Regions from separate parts of the Homo sapiens genome. Here region 1 is linked to region 2. Evidence: promoter capture Hi-C in 16 types of primary human blood cells and fetal thymus (Javierre and others, 2016). All regions are on one chromosome and are shown on one strand. Each heading gives the region's core, a stretch centred on a gene start or on the middle of the fragment in contact. The rest is flanking DNA. Distances are from core to core; before and after follow the strand shown. Region 1 overlaps MS4A15 (membrane spanning 4-domains A15). Region 2 holds the start of ZP1 (zona pellucida glycoprotein 1).

Evidence for each region. The method cuts DNA at HindIII sites, captures the fragments that hold promoters and counts their contacts. A CHiCAGO score of 5 or more calls a contact.
Region 1: a fragment that was not itself captured here is called in contact with the fragment with the promoter of ZP1 in region 2 in 1 of 17 cell types (endothelial precursors); the score reaches 6.5 in endothelial precursors.

What each region holds. Positions count from the first base shown.
Region 1 is chr11:60,772,465-60,777,214 of GRCh38, reverse strand. MS4A15 (membrane spanning 4-domains A15) reads right to left here. Exons shown (of 7, transcript NM_001098835.2): 5 at 3,731-3,823; 6 at 3,265-3,378; 7 at 482-1,610. The coding sequence ends at 1,500. Among named protein-coding and RNA genes, the nearest start is that of MS4A10, 10 kb to the left of the region's middle. RefSeq lists enhancers at 884-1,513, 1,514-2,143, 2,144-2,775 and a silencer at 1,658-1,777. The HindIII fragment of the contact is 2,280 bases long and covers 267-2,546 here.
Region 2 is chr11:60,865,698-60,871,057 of GRCh38, reverse strand. ZP1 (zona pellucida glycoprotein 1) reads right to left here and starts at 3,516. Exons shown (of 12, transcript NM_207341.4): 1 at 3,301-3,516; 2 at 1,792-1,913; 3 at 1,158-1,521; 4 at 583-726; 5 at 1-101. The coding sequence starts at 3,496. The HindIII fragment of the contact is 3,593 bases long and covers 2,245-5,360 here.

The DNA of each region.
Region 1 (4,750 bases), core at 157-2,656, 92 kb after region 2:
TAAATAGGGCCTTAAAGGAGGAGGGGGAGTTTGTTGGGTGAAGAAGAAGTGAGTGTGTTGAGGAATGCAGCCCTGCCTTAGTTTTGGGGATGAAGAAACAGAAGGAAGGAGGAAAAGGGGTTGGTGGGAAGCACTTAGGTTTGTACTAAGGGGAGACCAAGTGGTGAGAACACGGACTCTGACGTCACATGGAACTAGGTTTGGATCCCAGTTTTGCTCCTAACTAGCTCGGTGGCCTTGGGCATATAATTTAACACCTTTAAGCTTCAGTGTCCTTAGTTGTGGAGTGGGGATATGAAGGCATGTTTGTTTGAACCGAGATGGGGACAGAGTAAGTGTAAGGATTACACCACACAGAGCGAGGCACCCAGAGGTGCCCTTTTGTGACAGTGGGATAGTTACCCAGGTCCTCTGATAAACATGGGATGACCCTTGGAAGCCCCTGAGGTTAAAAAGAAAAAGTCATTGCAACAAGACCAGCTCAAAATTTAAGCCACATGGTTTATTTCCTTCTGTGGTGTGGATGAGACAAGCCATCTCATCTACCAGGCCTGGTGAACACCAGGCTGACAGTGTCTCCTTGTCCCCTGGAGACGAAGCCCAGGTCCTGTGGTAACCTTCTGTGGTAGCCTTGTCCTTGGGCTATGGGGGTGGGGAAGGGAGTGCTGAGAGGCACAGGGAGGTCCCAAACTGCCACTGCTGTGCCCCTGTCGATGCTGACTGTGGTGGTGCCTCAGGAGTGGGCTGGCGGCAGCTCTCCCCTGCAACCTCCCCTCCATTGGGAGATGGTAGGGGGTGGGGGGCGGGGCCAATGCTGACTTCATATTACAGACAAGGAAAATGAGGGTTTCCAGGAAGCAGGGGGACAATGCCTGGCCTAGACCCAGGACTTCAGGGAGCCTGGGGAGCTGGAAGGGCCTGATGAACCTTATCTGGTTCAACACTCTAGTTTCCAAATAGGAAACCTGAGTTCCATGGATGTGGCAACAGATGACAAAGGACAGAGCTGATCTTGGGGCCAGGAGACCTGCGGCCAGGCCACTACCCTGCTGTGAGGCCTTGGCCTGGTATCGGCACCTCTGTGGAATGCCAGAGTCAGACTCTTCCATTCTGGAGGATTCCGGGCTCTCTGACCTTCCCGAGGCCCGAGGGTCAGGGCAGGCCTCGAACCTGAGTCTCCAATGAGGCCAGGATTTCCCCAATGAGCAGAGAAATGCTTAGATGCACAAGGTGGGTGTCCTGGAAGGGTGACAGGGCTCAGGGAGCTGAAGGACACACACCCCTGACGTCAGCCCGGTGTCTTTTAGAAAGAAAGCACTGGGGAAAGTGTGGGAGAGATGTCCCTGGGGACACTTCACTCAGATGCCGGAGTATGTGTAGATGTGGTGAGGGAGGGCAGCTGGGATGGGGCTGGCCCCTGATGAACAAGGTGGGGGTGGGGAGAGGCTGGGCCCAGAGGGAAAAGGCTGGACTCCACCCGCAGGTGCCACATCTGCTACTCAGACGACTCCTTGGGCATATGCCACATTGTCATAGGCAGGGGGCGCAGAGGCTGCCGGGCTGGGGATGTTGAAGTCTGCGCTGAAGGCGTTTGGCAGGAAGATCACAGGCTGCAAAGAAAACAGCACTGAGCGTCCTGGAGGACGCTGGAGCTTCAGGGTAGTGGTTCAATAGTGCCCCCTTGTGGGTAATCTGAGAACAGCGCCCTGGTACTGAATTCCGCAAGTCTGAATCGCATGCTCAGGGCTCTCCGTGCAACCAATATTTCAAACAACATTTACTGGGGCCAGCTATGATCCAGGCATTGGGAGTACAGCAGTGAACAAAACAGACAAAAGTCCCATTTCTCCAGGCGCTAACGTTCTGCTGTTCTTTTTTTTCTTTTCTTTTTTTTTTTGAGACAGAGTTTTGCTCTTGTTGCCCAGGCTGGAGTGCAATGGCGTGATCTCGGCTCACTGCAACCTCCGCCTCTTGGGTTCAAGCTATTCTCCTGCCTCAGCCTCCCGAGTAGCTGGGATTATAGGCGCCTGCCACCATGCCCAGGTAATTTTTTGTATTTTTAGTAGAGACGGGGTTTCATCATGTTGGCCAGGCTGGTCTTGAACTCCTGACCTCAGATGATCTGCCCGCCTCGGCCTCCCAAAGTGCCGGGGTTACAGGCATGAGCCACCACGTCCGGCTCTGCTGTTCTTTCTCTCCCGACTGCCCTGGCCTGGTTCAGGACTTCGCTCTCTCTTGCCTGCACCGTGGCACCAGCCTCCTTGCAGCTTCCTGGCCTCGAGCCCCGCTTGTCCACCCTCTCCACCTTCCGGCACTGGACAAATCCTCTTGACTGATTTCCCTCAACCAGCTCACTCCCCTGCTCAGACCTTCAATCCCCTCACCCTCAATGCATCCCATCGTGCACCTGCCAAGGGCACCCCACCCTGTGGCCTGCATTTGCCTGCCCGAGGCAGCCTTTGCTCCAACTGGTTCCCCTGCCTTGAACACTCCCTCCAGCCCCTTTCTGTCATCACTGTCCTCCATTTTTTTTGGAAATCAAAGCTTAATTTCCATCTCTATCATGCTGCCCTCCCTGATGCCCCTGTCTCCCATGTGGCCTGGGAACTCCAAAAAGTCTCACTCCTCTGGGTGCAGCACTGCCCCCATGCCCTGAGCCTGGGCCTTCTATTCTGCAAGGCTGCCTGTGGGGCTGCACAGAGCAGTGGCCCTGTGGGTGCTGGTGCACCCAGTGCCACGGGGAGAGCAGTCCTGTCTTCACTGACCTGCGAAGACGTCTTTGGTTTTGTTTTGGTTTTAGAGACAGCCTTCCTCTGTCACCCAGGCTGAAGGGCAGTGGTGTGATCATAGCTCACTGCAGCCTCAACCTCCTGGGCTCAAGCGATCCTCCTGCCTCAGCCTCCCAACTAGCTAGGAGTACAGGCACGTACCATCACACATGGCTAATTAAAAATACATTTTTTTTTGTAGCGATAGGATCTTTTTATGTTGCCCAGGCTTGTCTCAAACTCCAGGGCTCAAGAGATCCTCCCATCTCATTTTTCAAAGTGCTGGGGTTATGGGTGTGAGTCACCATGCCCAGCCCAAAGACTTCTTTGGGCCCCCTGACATGGATGGGACACCCTTCCTAGCGCTGTCTCTTCTTATTGCTTCCCAGAGTGCAGAGGGAGGGGTCTGGAGGCAGAGCGCGCTCCCAGCCAACTGCCTTCCACACAGGCTCAGCTCAGGTTTAGTGGACGTGGGGGTGGGGGTGGGGGTACTCACTGCACTGGCCTGGGCATGGATGGCTTGGCACCCGAAGTGCATGGCAATGACCGCTGTGAAGAACTCCAGGACAGTGAAGATAGTAAGCACGGCCAGATAGCCCCTGTCCACATCCTGGGGACCAAAACCCACAGAAAGGTGAGCCCAGAGTTCTAGAGTAAGGGGGTCCCCCGAGTGAGAACCACTTGCCCAAGGTCATGCGGCTAGTTGGGAGCAGAGCTGTGCCTGGAGCCAGTCCCCCTGCCGCCAGTCCTGCACCCTCCCCTTCACCCTGCAGGCTGCCTCCTTGCTCCTTCTGATGCCTATCTTGGGGAAGGCTCAGAGGATCCATGGATTCATGGGGTCTATAGGGACTGGCAGGCCCTGCCAACGTCCTGGCGCTGCAAACTCTCACCTCCCTACCCTCCTGGACATGGCTGCATCATTTTCCAAGTTTTCCCACCCCGAGGGCCATCTGACAACGCACCCGGTTGGTAACACCAAAATCCATGAGCAGAATGGCTGTCCCAGCAAAGGCCGCCATGACGCTGAGGATGTTGGTGCCCAGGCTGCTCCTCACCTGCAGAGAGCAGAGAGACAGGAGCAGAGGGAATAGGCAAAGAGAAGGAGAAAAGGCAGGGGCTGTGGCTCAGCTGCCCAGCCCCCAGCACGCTGCCTCCCACAGCCAAGGAGGCAGTGGCCACACCACCCTGCACACAGCTGTGTTCTCATTGACTGCTCCCCTTTTCTCTTCTCCTCCCCTGGGACCTCGGGAGGAGGTCTTGTTGTCTCTCTTTCCTTCTCTCGTCTTCTTGGAAGCTGCTAGGGAGAAGGGCACCACCTCCTTTACAGCCTTTCTGGGTGGAGTTTGCAGCCTCCAGCTTACCCCGTACTGTGGCTCCCTCTCCCCCAGGCCCAGCACCTCGCAGGAGAAGCTGCAGCTGAGGCCTGCTCAGGGGCATGGGTTGGGGGAGGCTCTTTGCTGTGGACACTGAGGCCTGGTTGGGAGAGGGGTTGAGTTCATTTCTATGAGGTTCCAGGAAGTGGCTGGCGGAGTGAGGCACTGCAGACACTGGTGGGGCACCAGGCAGGGGAGACAGGAGAGGCAGGAGCTGAAGGTCTGAAGTCTGGGTGGGCTGAGAGGCCTAGGACTCCAGGGTCTAAAGAGCGTGCAGGGCAAGTGACTCCTGGGGTGGTCCAGGCAGCCACCCAGGGGTCACCATCCCCGTGCAGCCCGAACCTGACGGTCTCGTGACCCGTAGCTGGAGCCTTCTGGTTAAACTGCCCCAAGGGGAAACATTCATGGGTGGGCTGGGGACTCTAGGACCTCTTCAGGTTTAAAGACCCCTGATTCTTCTTTTTAAATGGCAATCAGGAGGTCATTGAGATCAGAACAGCCTCACAAGAAATCCATTAATTGATTAAGCCAAAAGCTTTTATTGAGCACCTACTGCATGCCAGGCACTATGCAAAGTGCTGTGAGTCCAGGAGAGAGTAAGTCAGGTCT
Region 2 (5,360 bases), core at 2,267-4,766:
ATAGGCCAGGTGGATGTTGGCCAGTGTGATCCTGTGTGTCAAGGCCATTTCTTGGGACACCACGAGGACGAAGTAGCCATCTCTGAAGCACTGGACAGTAGCTGGGACAAAGGCAGATGAGGGCCTTGGGGTTTGGTGTCCATCCAGCACAGAGACGGGATGGCTGGGTGACAGCCAGGCTTTAAGTGCCGGTCTAGGAGAATGGACGCTTACTCTCCACTTAGGCTGGTGTTGGCCCCAGCAAACCCTTTATGGACTGATTTTCTCATCCATGTGACAAATGAGTTGAACTACACTCTAAAAGTAGGTTCACCATATAATCTGTCATCCAAACCAGGGCGTTTCAGATCTGAAAGTCCAGATGTGTGTAAGGTAGATCTATTAATAGTTCCCTGGGACAGTTGTTATAAGGCCAGCTGGGACATGTGACCGCCCCATCTAAAGGTCTCCTCTGCCATCTGCTCTGGGAGTTGGGCTCTCCAGGAGGAGGATAGGAAGCAGTTTCCACCAGCTGGAGGAGACAGCTCTCCTTCCGCTTCAGAATCCAAGGGACCAGGATCTTGCTGGGGTGGGAGGTTGTACCTGTGTTGCCATAGTAACAGGGAACCTCTCTGGTGTTGTCATAGCAGCAGCCAGCCTGCTGACAGGCTTCTTTTGAAGTTCTTCTCACGATGCAGGGGAGGTGCCCTGAGGCCACCTGGCACTGCTCCTGGCTCAGGTGGGTACCTAGGGTTGGGACAGAGTGATGAGGCTGAAGGCACACAGTTTGCAAATCATGGCCCTGGAATTGAATCTTGGGAACCTGCTCCAGAGCTTGTGCTCTTAGCCAGCACAGTAAATGTCCTCCCTCAAAACTGAATATTACTGAAATTTCTAGAGAATATTTTCTGAGAATCAGGTGTTGCTGGCAATGGTTTCAATGAGTTTCTGCCTAAAGTTAGGAAACAAATTTACAAGACCTCTTCTAGCTTTAGTACACCTATACATGTTTAAAGCTGTTTTCCAAATACTACAAAGGAATAAAAGAATCATCTTTTTCTAAAAAAAGAAAAAAACAAAAAAAGAAATGGCTTAGAGCCCAGTAAAAGGCTGTTAGGCCACCCTGTACTCCAGAAGTCCCCAGACAGAGGGTAAGTACACTCAGATGTCCTGCGTACCTATGTAATCTCGTTTGTTCACATCCCAGTGTTCCAAGGTGCCCCAGTGGGGTTGAGCCAGGGTGGCGAGGGTAGGTCCAGGTCCAGGGGATGGTAAAGCAGGGGTTGGGTGGACAGAGCTGTGCCCTGGGTCCAGTGGGCTGGGAAAGGCATGGCCAGAGCCTTGGGAGGTATGGCCAGAGGTGGGGAGGAAGGAAAGGGTTTGTGGGGTTGAGACAGAGAACATGGCGGGTGGTGCCAGCTGGGAGTCCAGAGTCCGGGAGGGGTCAGGTTTGGGACAGATCAGAGTAGCGTCTTGTGCCACATCCACACGACCATTGGGCAGCACAGCCTCCATGAACACCCTCAGGTGGAAACGCCCATCCTGCAGGTGAGAGGCCATCATAGAGCAGCAAGGTGAGGCCACCTAGCATACCCAGGCAGGGGACGGGCCCACGAGAGCTGAGCTGGCCATTAGGCAGGGAGCTGGATTCATGGTGGATTCCAGAAAGTACCTTCCAGAGCTTAGTTTCCCTCACCCACCAGCTCAACAGATCTTCGGCTTTGGCTCCTTTCTGGTTCATGAGGGGCCTCTTCAGCCTGACATGACACTAGGACAAGCTTGCCCCTGTGCCAGAGCATGAACAACCCCTACCTTCTCCAGCACGTGGCAGCCTCTGTAATCGGCCGAGAAGACTGCAGGCTCCTGCGGCCTGGAGGTGACCCAGTGGTAGCAGATGGAGCAGTTGTTGACATCAAATCGGTTCCCAAATTCATCTGCAGTGGGGGAAGGGGAGGGGCCAGGGATGTTGAAGGGTGCAGGGAGAGGTTGCTGGGGTCTCGGAAGGAGTTCCCACTCAGCAGCCAGGAGACCTGGGTTCTTGCCTTAGCTTTGCTATTAGTTTGTTGTGTGGTCTTGGGCAAGCCCCCTCCCCTCTCTGCTCTCAGTTTCCACAGCTGTAAGGGGATGGGAGGGTCTTAGGATCTTTCTAGCTAGGGTTCCCTGCTCACAGCACACGGCAGCAGGCAGGCACGAAGATGAGGTGGAGAAGGGATACACAGGGTCTCAGGCACTGGCCTGAGTATTTCACATCACTTCTTTTAAGCTTAGTTATCCACATCCTGTGGCTGAGGCAGCTGAGGAAGGGAGGGTGCGTGAGCTTTCTTAGGTGCACACAATGAGGGGCAGAATGAGGATTTGAATCCTGGGCTTTGTAGAAAGATCTGAACCCATTTCCCAGGTTAACTGTGGCTGCTGCAGTTGCTTGGAGACACCCCCTAGGTGTCCACCCTGCTTGTTGCCCCAGAACAGCCTGGGCATTCCCTGGGTGTGGGCATGTCCCCATGCCCTTGTTCCATGAGCACGGCCAGGTTCATCTTCCCCACCTTGCAGATGAGGAAACAGAGGCTTATGAGTCAGGTCAGTTGTCCAAAATCATCCCGTTTAGAAGCTGCAGATCCAAACCCCAGTTCTAAACCCACACCAGGCCACGCCTACTAGGTCCTGCTGCTGGAAGTGGTTTATGGACCCTCAGCCTCAGTTTTGACTGAGCGTGGTTAGAGATGCAGAGCCTAGGCTGGGTGCAGTGGCTCACGCCTATAACCCCAGCACTTTGGGAGGCTGAGGCAGGTGGATCACCTGAGGTCAGGAGTTCGAGACCAGCCTGACCAATATCGTGAAACTCCATCTCTACTAAAAATACAAAAAGTAGCTGGGCGTGGTGGCACACACCTGTAGTCCCAGCTACTAAGAGGCTGAGGCAGGAGAATTGCTTGAACCTGGGTGGTGGAGGTTGCAGTGAGCTGAGATCGTGCCAACTGCACTCAAGCCTGGAGAACAGATTGAAAGAAGTGAGACTGTCTCAGAAAAAAAAAAAAAAAAGAAAAGAAATGCAGAGGCTTGGCCCTGCCCCAGGTCCACTGAATCAGAACCTGCACCTCAACAAGGTGGCCAGGTGTTTCCCATGCACACTAACGTGGGAGAAGCTGCCCTGGGTGATGATTCTCCTCCTTGCCCTTTTCTGTGGTGAGGGGGTGGGGGGCTGGACACCCCCAGGCTGGAGGGAGGCCTCTGTTCTTGCTCCTTCAGGGGAAGGGTCCCAGCTCCCTTCTGGCAGCAGCCCGTGGCCAGGGAGGCAGGGGCCAGGACTCTGCCAGCACTCACCCACCACCTTGAAGCGGAGAGTCTGGCCTGGCCTGGGGAACACCAGCAGCTGCATTCCCTTGATCCCACAGTCGTAGCTGTGCCGGAGGCCTGGGAGGCCAGGGTCGGGCTGGAGCCACCTACCCAGCCCCAGGGTGGCAACCAGCAGTAGCAGGGCCACAGGGTAACCCCAGGTCGTGGCTGAGCCTCCTGCCATGAGACGCCACAGACACACCCCCTACTCCCTCGCCACCAGAGCTGGGCCCAGGCCTTTTATGGAGGAGGTGGCAAGTGGGTGCCTGTAAGGGCAAAGGGGGCCCACCTGGAGGAGCACCCACCTGGCCACCAGGGGCTGTGGTGAAACTCCTGTTCCAAAGGCAGCGGGAGGCAGAAAGCTGCACGTGGCCCCTCACCCTGGCTTTCTGTCTCACAGCTGTGGCTTTGGAAGGGAGGAGGGAGCTTTCCAGAAAACTGAGGTTGCAGATGGGCTGTGGGAAGGGATCCAGGGCTAGGAGGTGGCACTGCAGACCTCAGGCCCTCCACTGTCTCCCTCTCACCCCAGCCTTTCTGCATTCCCTTCCTGCCCCAACAGGCTCTCCAGGTCCTCCTTCCTGCCTTGAGGCCTCAGGACCACTGGGAGCTGCCGGCCTGGTTAGTACAGTCACAGCTCCTCAGGCAGGGCTTTAGGGGCATTAGAGCAAGACCAGGAAGACACAGCCCTCAGAGCTGGCAGCGGAATGGGGACTGCAGGTGAGTAAACAGACCAGTAGCACCTCCAAGGGCTCTCCTGAGGATTCAGCCGGTCAGTATGATGATGACTATGACTAATAAAAAATAACAAGGACAACTAAATGTAATGTGGCATCTGGATGGGATCGTGGAACAGAAAAAGGCAGTAAAAGTGAAGAAAGTGGATTTTAGTTAATAATAATGTGTCCACATTTGTTTGTTCATTAATTGTAATAAATGTATCATACTCAAGTAAGATCAGTTATGGGGTAAACTGGGCCTGCGGTGTATGGGAACTGTCTGTACTATCTTCTCAGTTCTGTAAATCTAGAACAGTTCTAAGACATAAAAGTGGCTGGAAACAACAAGAATGGCCTGTGGTCTGCCATGATTACAGTGCCAGGTCTTGCTTGTGTTAGATCCTTATACCGCCTGACCATCCTCTGAGGAAGGGACTGTCACCAGCCCCACGTCCTGGCACTAATTCCTGCAAGTGATTAGCCTAGGGCCCAGCAGCGTTTGAGCTCAGCAAACATTAGAAAATGCAGCTATTATAATTAGCAGCTGCTGGAAGGGGAGAGCAAGAGGCTTGATAGCTAAGAGCCCGGTTCTGGTGAGGTTGCAGAGAAAAAGGAATGCTTATACGCTCTTGGTGGGGGTGTAAATTGGTTTGACCACTGTGGGAGTGTGGTGATTCCTCAAAGAGCTGAAAACAGAACTATCATTTGATGCAGAAATCGCATTACTGGGTATATATCCAAAGGAATATAAATTGTTCTATCATAAAGACACTGAACCTGCGTGCATATGTTCAGTGCAGCATGATTCACAATAGCCAAGACATGGAATCAAATGCCCATCAATGGTAGACTCAATAAAGAAAATCTGGTACATGCTGAGCACGGTGGCTCACGCCTGTAATCCCAGCACTTTGGGAGGCCGAGGCGGGCGGATCACGAGGTCAGGAGATCGAGACCATCCTGGCTAACATGGTGAAACCCTGTCTCTACTAAAAATACAAAAATTAGCTGGGTGTGGTGGCACGCACCTGTAGTCCCAGCTACTCAGGAGGCTGAGGCAGGAGAATCGCTTGAACCCAGGAGACGGAGGTTGCAGTGAGCCGAGATTGTGCTGTTGCACTCCAGCCTGGCCGACAGAGTGAGACTCTGTCTCAAAAAAAAAAAAAAAAAAAGAAAAAGAAAAAAAAAAAAGGAAAATGTGGTACACATACACCATGGAATACTATGCAGCCATAAAAAAGAATGAGATCACATCTCTTGCAAGAACATGGATGGAGCTGGAGGATATTATCCTTAGCAAACAAATGCAGGAACAGAAACCAATACCACATG